Regions from separate parts of the Homo sapiens genome. Here all the other regions are linked to region 2. The links are contacts of gene promoters, found by promoter capture Hi-C in human tissues and cell types (Jung and others, 2019). All regions are on one chromosome and are shown on one strand. The core of a region is centred on a gene start or on the middle of the fragment in contact, and the rest is flanking DNA. Distances in the headings are between cores, read along the strand shown. Region 1 overlaps RBFOX3 (RNA binding fox-1 homolog 3). Region 2 holds the start of ENGASE (endo-beta-N-acetylglucosaminidase). Region 3 overlaps RBFOX3 (RNA binding fox-1 homolog 3).

Region 1 (2,700 bases), core at 180-2,679, 160 kb after region 2:
TTGGCTGAAGAAGACTTCATACGCTGACGGATCTAGTTTCCGGTCCTGATTTTTGAAAAACGCAGCGCTGGCCTTGTGCACACACCACCCAAAACCCAGGACCTAGCGAAGAGAGGCCACCTGAGGGCCGATGGCTGCATTTTCTAATTTTGTTCACACTAAATATACATTACAGATGATCTCCAACTTACGAAGGTTTGACTTACGATTGACTTTGAATTTTTCAACTTTATGTTTGTTGGGTTTATTGGGGGCATTAAGTGCTTTTTTTTTTTTTTTTTTTTTTTTTTTTTGAGATGGAGTCTTGCTCTGTTGACCAGGCTGGAGTGCAGTGGTGTGATCTCAGCTCATGCAACCTCCGCCTCCCGGGTTCAAGTGATTCTCCTGCCTCGGCCTACCAGTAGCTGGGACTACAGGCACCCGCCACCATGCCCGGCTAATTTTTGTATTTTTTAGTAGAGATAGGGTTTCGCCATGTTGGCCAGGCTGGTCTTGAACTCCTGACCTCAGGTGATCTGCCCACCTTGGCCTCCCAAAATGTTGAGATTACAAGCATGAGCCACCAAGCCCGGTCCATTAAATTTATTTTTGACTTACAATATTTTCACCTTATGATGGGTTTATCAGGACACAACCCCATTGAAGGTCCAGAAGCATCATACTTGTATAATAATCTCCCCAAAGTAAACTCTGCAAGTGAATCTGTGGAGGGGGTCAGCCACAGGTGGGTAATGGGGGTTGGAGGTACAGAGCAATGGACCAATGGGCTCAGGCAGTAGTAGCCAGTCCCCCAGCGAGGGTCAACACTGGGAACTGAGCTGGTATCCGAAGCCCCTTCCCCGAGGAGACCAGGCCATGGAGATGAGTTGGACCACCCTGGACCAGCAAGCTGGGGCTGCCTGAGGAATGGGTGGCCATGCGCGGAGCACCTGGGGTGGGGGACCTTGGGGTTGGGGGAGGGAAAGGATCAGGAAGGCAGTGACATTGCTTCTCAGGCCAGCCAGAATTGCCTAAAAACAATCGTCCTCCATCCTTACCCCATTTATCCATTTCCCTTTCAGCCCCTCCGGCTCCCAGTCCTGCCTTTCCCAGCACATTTTGGGCTCATCCATGGGGGACAAGAGAGAACACGACACAGAGGTGCTAAACGGCGCCAAGCCTTCCCTCCACAGCCCCCAAACTCTTCCTCCCTCCAGTGGCTGGGAAACCCCAGAAACTCCTGGCTTTCATTATCAGCAGCTCCCAAGATGTTCAACATGCTCATATCTGTCAAAAACTATTCAGGAAAAATAGAGAAAGTCTTTATACCTTTTATTCAGCCAATTTTCCCCGAGGCACTCTGGGCTCTCTAAGAAAAGAAAAAGAGAGAAAGGAGAGAGAATCACAATCAATGTTGTCATCATGCATCTGGTTGCTGGCGATGCTATTTGCTCATCGACTAGGGAAGTCTGGAGGTGGAAGCATCATCTCCCTGGGAGTCCAAGGAAACCTGCCTGGGTTAACCTCTGGCTGCCGTCTGCATCTCAAGCATGGCTGGGAGGCGGCGGTTAGATAACAGGCAGAGATAAAGCAAAACAGGGCACGGTGGACCGGCCACCCAGAGGTTTCAGACTCATTTTCTCTGCGACTCTGGATGTTCCTTTTTTTCCCCCACCTCAAACTCCAAGCACTCCCCAGCCTGGTTTGAGGTTGTCCACAAACGCAGGCCTTGTGGCTTGTTGATGGTGACGTTTAGTTTCACACTGGGTTTCCTCTGCCATGCCGTGGGGATTTGCTTCCTCCTCCAGGTGTAGGGCGGGGGTCACTTTGAGTGTGGTCATGGCATGCACATTCATTTTATTTATTTATTTGTTTTTGGAGATGGAGTCTCGCTCTGTCTGGAATGCAATGGTGCGATCTTGGCTCACTGCAACCTCCGCCTCCTGGGTTCGAGCGATTCTTGTGCCTCAGCCGCCCTAGTAGCTGGGAGTACAGGTGTGTGCCACCCCGCCCAGCTAATTTTTTGTATTTTTAGTAGAGACGGGGGTCTCGCCATGTTGCCCAGGGTGGTCTCAACCTCCTGAGCTCGGGCAATCCACCCACCTTGCCCTGCACATTCATTTTATGTTATTAAAGAAAAGTTATTTAACAAATTCTAAATCCCACCAAACACATAATTATAGAGGCAATCGTTGTATGTTATTGTGAATCAGGTGCACCTACCAGCAGCAGGAACAGCTCAGTGATACGGACAGACTGGCAAGGACCACCACTCACTCACTTTATAATCCAGGGCCCGGGGCCAGGGTATCCACTCCTGCCTAAGTCACAAAGCTAGCTCACTGGGGCCTGGGACTCCACACGAGTGCCTGGAGACCTTCCTTTTCTTAGTAGGTCATTGAGGAGTTCAGAAACAAAGGGGTGTGTGTATAGTGTGCTTTAAACAAACTTAGATTTCCTTCCTTTATTTTAGTAATGTTTCATAATTTTCTGTGTACATGACTTGCACATTTTTTAATTGTGGTAAAATATACATAATATACAATTTACAATTTTAACCATTTTCAAATGTACAATTCAGTGGTATTGAGTGCATTCACACTGCTGTCAATCACTGCTGCTCTCTGATGCCTGAACCTTTTCGTTGCTCCAAAAAGAATATCCATACCTGTTAAGATGCCACTCCCTGCCCCCAGCCTCCTGTGCATATGTGTATGTGTG
Region 2 (2,700 bases), core at 157-2,656:
AACTGTGTTCTAACCTGGGTAGGATGAAAGTTTATCTATTTTTATTGCTAAGCTGCAGGTGAGGGCTTGGGAACACCTGGTTACATGCACCCCAGATCAAGACTGTCCACGTCCGGTGCACCCCTGAACACAGCAGGAGGGAACTTGGGGATCCACTGCCCTCGCTCACTGTAAGCTTCCCAGGACTGAAGCCCCAAAGAGGAGCCCTCTGCCTTCTCTGTCCTCCCCATGGGTCAGCGTGTCCTGCTTCTGAGTGGCCCGTCCTTCCTGCCTAACTGGCTGGCCTGCACCATGGCCCATATTCAACAACCTTAGTCATAGTTCCCACCATTGGCGTTTATGGAAGCTTGGAGCCTCATAAAGTTCAAAGTCTGCAACAATAATAAAGGCCCAGTCAACTTGGCTTGGGCGGCAGCTGCAGCCCAGCACTGGAAGCTCCTAGCTGTGGAGGGGCGTTGGGGCCTGGAGGGAGGAGAGCCTTGGTTTGCCCTGTGGGGCCCAGCCTTGAGTTCTGGCTTCTCAGGGCTCTGTTCTATCATGTTTCCTGTGAACTCCTTTTGTGCCTAAGACGCTGGGCAGTGCCACTCTTGCAGAGGTGCCACTCCAGGCCCTGCACGCTTAGGGGTAGAGCAACTACTACTGTTGGGCACAGGCGTGGGGCTGTAGAAAGAAATCCGTGTTTCACTGGAAAACTATGCATCCTACATAGGACACCAGCTTCCACATGGCCCGATACTAACCTACTAACCTTTCATCTTTTTTTTTTTTTTTTTGAGACGGAGTCTCCCTCTGTCGCCCAGGCTGGAGTGCAATGGCACCGTCTCGGCTCATTGCAGCCTCTGCCTCCCGGGTTCCAGCGATTCTCCAGTCTCAGCCTCTCAGGTAGCTGGGATTACAGGCATGCACCACCACGCCCGGCTAATTTTTGTATTTTAAGTAGAGACGGGGTTTCACCATGTTGGCCAGGGTAGTCTCGAACTCCTGACTTCAGGTGATCCGCCCGCCTCGGCCTCCCAAAGTGCTGGAATCGCAGACGTGAGTCACCGCGCCCGGTCTGAAAATTATCTTTTAATAGGGGTTAGCTGCATGAGTTAAAATCTCATTGCCACCATTTGCTGACTTTGTGCCCTCTGGGAGATTGCTTAATCTCTCTGGGATAAACCTCGGTTTGCTTGACAAAGGAAGCTGGTGAGGCTAAAGAGAGAACTCTAAGATTGGGGCGTTCCGAAGCCTTCTAGAGCCTTCTAGCACCCTGGACTCATAGCCAATGATGGGCAACAACAAGAACGACGACGAACCCTGGGCTCGGAACTCGCCCAGGCCCCGCCCCTCACAGCCCCGCCCCGTCCTCGGCCCCGCCCCCGGCCTGTCGCCTCAACAAAGTCCCCGCCGCGCGGCCGCTGGCCGGGAGTCAGCTCGGAGTCCCGTCCCAGCGCGGCGTCAGCGCTGCGCACTTCCCATTGGCCGAGCGCGGCGCGGGGGCGGGCCCGGGCCTGCGATTGCCTCTCGGCGTGCGCGGACAGTGTCATGGAGGCCGCGGCGGTGACGGTCACCCGGTCGGCTACACGGCGGCGGCGGCGGCAGCTGCAGGGGCTGGCGGCCCCGGAGGCGGGGACGCAGGAGGAGCAGGAGGATCAGGAGCCGCGGCCGCGGCGGCGGCGGCCGGGAAGGAGGTGGGGCTGCGGGGCCCGCGTGAACCCCGATCCGCGGGGCTGAGAGTCCGTGGCCCCGGGGCCCGAGGTTTCCCGGCACGGGCGCGCCGAGGGGCGGGGGGCCGGCGCCTGTGTCCGCTCCGTGCACAGTAAGGGACAGAGGGTGGCAGCGCCCCTCCGCCCCGGTCCGCCCCGCCGTCCTCGCGCCACTGCCGGGCAGCGGCCTCCGGCCCCCGTGCGTGACCCCTGCCTATCTCAGAAATACGGGTGCAAACCCGAGTGGCCGCGGGGCCCAGCGGGAATCCCGACGCCCCGGCCAGACCCCTGCTTCCCACGTCGCTGGTCTATGCGGAAGATCCCGGCGGCGGTGCTCATGCCTGGCTCAGTGGATGCCGGCTGGTGGAAGGGGTGGCCTTCTGTAGGGGTGACACTAGAACTGAGTCTTTGGGGAGGAGGAAGCCTTCAGTAGGTGGAGAATAGGGAGTAGGGTATCCAACTGGCGGGGAACAGAAAGGGCCAAAGCACAGAGACAGAAAGGGACGAACATGCCCCTCTGGGCTGGGCTTCCTTCCTTTGGGGGGCACTTGCCCACCCGGTAAACTCCCCCTCAGTAGGTTGCAGGGGGAGAAGTTAGGAGCACAGACATGGCTTCCGGAAACAGCAGCCGTAGCTTTGTTTCTAAACCCAAAGCAGTGAGACTGCTGAGCATTTCAGACCTCATGAAGATGGGATGAAGGCTGGCTGCTGGGAAAGATATTTTTGGACAGGAGGAATGTGGAGATGGCTCTTTCCCTCCTAGTGGAGGAATGACAGGTGACAAAGGTGACCTGGTGTGGGATTGTTCTGAGAAGGTCTGGGAGGGGGTGGCTGAAGTATAATAAGGACATCAACGAGGAAGGGGGCTTTGGAAAAGGAAGGTGGAGAGGAACAACTGCGGCATCTCTGCTTGAATCCGTCCCCGACCCCTGCAGTTCTCAGGGTCTCCCAATGTCATTCTGGAGGCCCTGGGTCAGTGTTTGGTGATGGCAGATGCTACAGAGGACTCTTT
Region 3 (2,700 bases), core at 137-2,636, 210 kb after region 2:
GTTTCCAATGCAGGGTTGCTGAAGAGAATTATTTATGAAGTCTCTGAACCACTTGGGGTTCAGAAAATATTTTGGGAAGAGTAAAACCTAGGTTACAATATTTAATAACTTTCTTCAATGTTTTGTTATTCCAAATCCACAACCCAAATGTTTTGGTTTGTTCAGAAAATAACAGCAACAAGAAAGTCATAAAAAATAGGGAGGAGAGTGCGTGGTGATTGAGACAGGCCCTCATGGGAGCTGAAGGCTCAGAGCAGTCACAAGGAGATGGCTGGAAGCAGGCTTGGGGGAAGAGACTCGCTTTTTTTTTTTGACATGGAGTTTTGCTCTGTCACCCAGCAGGCTAGAGTGTAGTGGCTTGATCTCGACTTACTGCAACCTCTGCCTCTGGGGTTCAAGGGATTCTCCGGCCTCAGCCTCCTGAGTAGCTGGGATTACAGGTGCTCATCACCACGTCCGGGTAATTTTTGTAGTTTTAGTAGAGACGAGATTTCACTATGTTGTCCAGGCTGGTGTCGAACTCCTGACCTCAGGTGATCCACCCACCTCGGCCTCCCAAAGTGCTGGGATTACAGGGGTGAGCCACTGTGCCCAGCCAGCCTTCTCTTTTATGACTGCCCTGATGGACTTTGGGGTCATGAAGGGGCTGGAGATGGCAAGCTTGGGGCCCTTCATCCTCTGGCCCTGGTGTTCGGAGAGAAGAAGGGCAGACACAGAAGTAGACCTCGCTTTGTAAATGGTCATGGATTCAAAAGCTTGTGTGGATATTTGCAGCCTGTGTGACACCTGGCAAATGATTCCACTCCCTGTGCCTCAGTTTTCCATCCACAAAATGGGAGTGGTGCTACCTGCCTTGCGGATGTGTTGGAGGATGAGAAAGAAGATGCTTGAAAATCTCCTTCTACGACGCAGGCACATCGCAAAGAACAGCCAACCCTCCTCTGGGCTGTAACCCTCTCCTCGCTCCTGCACTGAGAAGCTGTCAGTGGCGCTGTCCCCCCTTTCTGCCCCAGCCAGGTGGATAGACAAGCTGCAGTTAATATGCCCACAAGAATTCCCATTTGCTCTTTCCTGATTTCATGCCATGGTCAGCTAATGAAACAGACCTGTTGATGAAAAGTTCCATGTGGATGCAAATGGTACTAGTTCATAACCATATATTCCTGCTCATTTACGTGATACACCCAGAGATGTTGTACCTTCATTTCTGACCATCTTCAATTAACACAGGCTCCACATACTGTAGCATACAATGCCCTGAAACCTTTCCATCAAGTAGGTAAAGATCTGTAAACCAATATTGAAATGCACTAGAGAAGCTCCATCCTACAGGAATCCTGCTGTGAGTCCCTGTGGTTTCCCGAAGATCCACTGACAGTGCCAGAAACCACCTGCTCCTTTATCTGCTTTGATAAGGCTGCATTTTCATGCATTGGTTTTTGTTTTGTTTTGTTTTTTTGAGATGGAGTCTCGCTCTGTCACCCTGGCTGGAGTGCAATGGTGCGATCTCAGCTCATTGCAACCTCCGCCTCCTGAGTTCAAGTGATTCTCCTGCCTCAGCCTCCCAAGTGTCTGGGATTACAGGCGCCCACCATCATGCCCAGGTAATTTTGTATTTTTAATAGAGATGGGGTTTTGCCATGTTGAGCAGGCTGGTCTTGAACTCCTGACCTCAGATGATCCACCTACCTCGGCCTCCCAAAGTGCTGGGATTACAGGCGTGAGCCACTGCACCCGGCCTGTGCATTGGGTTTTGTTCAAGTGGGTACATCTGTCCTACACAGAAAGTCAATGGGCAGAATGGCTGCTGGCTTGAGACCATTCCACTCAGATCAGCTGGCACTGTGACCTTCTAGAAGCTGAGTACTGGTGCAGAGTCTATTGCAAATAAATGTCCCTGGCCTGCCTCTCCGAGCCCTTGTGAGGACCCTCTGACGTCATGTGGCTGCCTTGATTGGCATTGCAGAGATTGCTTGGCTCCCATGTCATAGTGGCCACCTGGAACTTTCTAGGACTTTCTGCCCCTTAGAGAGCCTGGTAATTCCTGGCTTCTCACTGCAGGTTTTGGACTCAGTGGAGTGAGGCCACTTTCTCCACGCCCCCGGCTGCCATCTGCAGTTCTGCCCCAGAAGTATAGAGATGACTCTCCTGTCCCCATCCCCTCCTCCATCACCAAATCACCCCAGCACTTCTCTCCCCCTGCAGCCTGCTCCCAAAGACCAGCAAAGCCTGTTGAACAGAAAACGCTGAGATGGGGGTGCTTCACGCCCGGCCCCTGATGCTTATTAACTGTGCAGGGAGGGTTTGCCCATCCCTGGGCTGGCTTCCTCCTGATATGTGACAGAGCTTAATACGCTGCGGCTCCCAGCCTCGCCAGCCACCCCGAGAGAGCTGCATTTCACAAGCCTTTTGTTAACCCCCTACTGGGCTGATTCCGTGACTTTCTGGTTCTTCTCCCTTGGTGTTAAGAATGGGAAAGGGTAGGGCCCTAAAGAGGATGGAGCCAGGCTGTGCGTTAACATAGAAGCTGGAGAGGGAGGTCCCACCCATAGACCTGCTCACTGAGGGAAGACGGAGGTGCCCAGCAAGGAGGTGCCTGCTGAGGACGCCCTGGTGCCCTCCTCAGACACTGTCAGAAGCCTGGTCCCACACTGTGGGCTGAGAACGCTGTAGGGTCAGGGTTCCCTAATCCACCCTATG

The links. The method cuts DNA at HindIII sites, captures the fragments that hold promoters and counts their contacts. A contact is called where the count stands out against the background at its distance.
Region 1: a contact is called between a fragment that was not itself captured here and the fragment with the promoter of ENGASE in region 2, in 3 of the 25 tissues and cell types used here (liver, lymphoblastoid cells and mesendoderm cells).
Region 3: a fragment that was not itself captured here is called in contact with the fragment with the promoter of ENGASE in region 2 in 2 of the 25 tissues and cell types used here (dorsolateral prefrontal cortex and thymus).

What each region holds. Positions count from the first base shown.
Region 1 is chr17:79,234,458-79,237,157 of GRCh38, forward strand. It overlaps RBFOX3 (RNA binding fox-1 homolog 3), which reads right to left. Exons shown (of 15, transcript NM_001350451.2): 4 at 1,309-1,348. Among named protein-coding and RNA genes, the nearest start is that of ENGASE, 160 kb to the left of the region's middle. The HindIII fragment of the contact is 7,036 bases long and covers 1-2,700 here.
Region 2 is chr17:79,073,418-79,076,117 of GRCh38, forward strand. ENGASE (endo-beta-N-acetylglucosaminidase) reads left to right here and starts at 1,407. Exons shown (of 14, transcript NM_001042573.3): 1 at 1,407-1,673. The coding sequence starts at 1,528. RefSeq lists a silencer at 1,269-1,808. The HindIII fragment of the contact is 14,853 bases long and covers 1-2,700 here.
Region 3 is chr17:79,284,243-79,286,942 of GRCh38, forward strand. All of the region lies in intron 3 of RBFOX3 (RNA binding fox-1 homolog 3), which reads right to left. Among named protein-coding and RNA genes, the nearest start is that of ENGASE, 210 kb to the left of the region's middle. The HindIII fragment of the contact is 4,236 bases long and covers 1-2,700 here.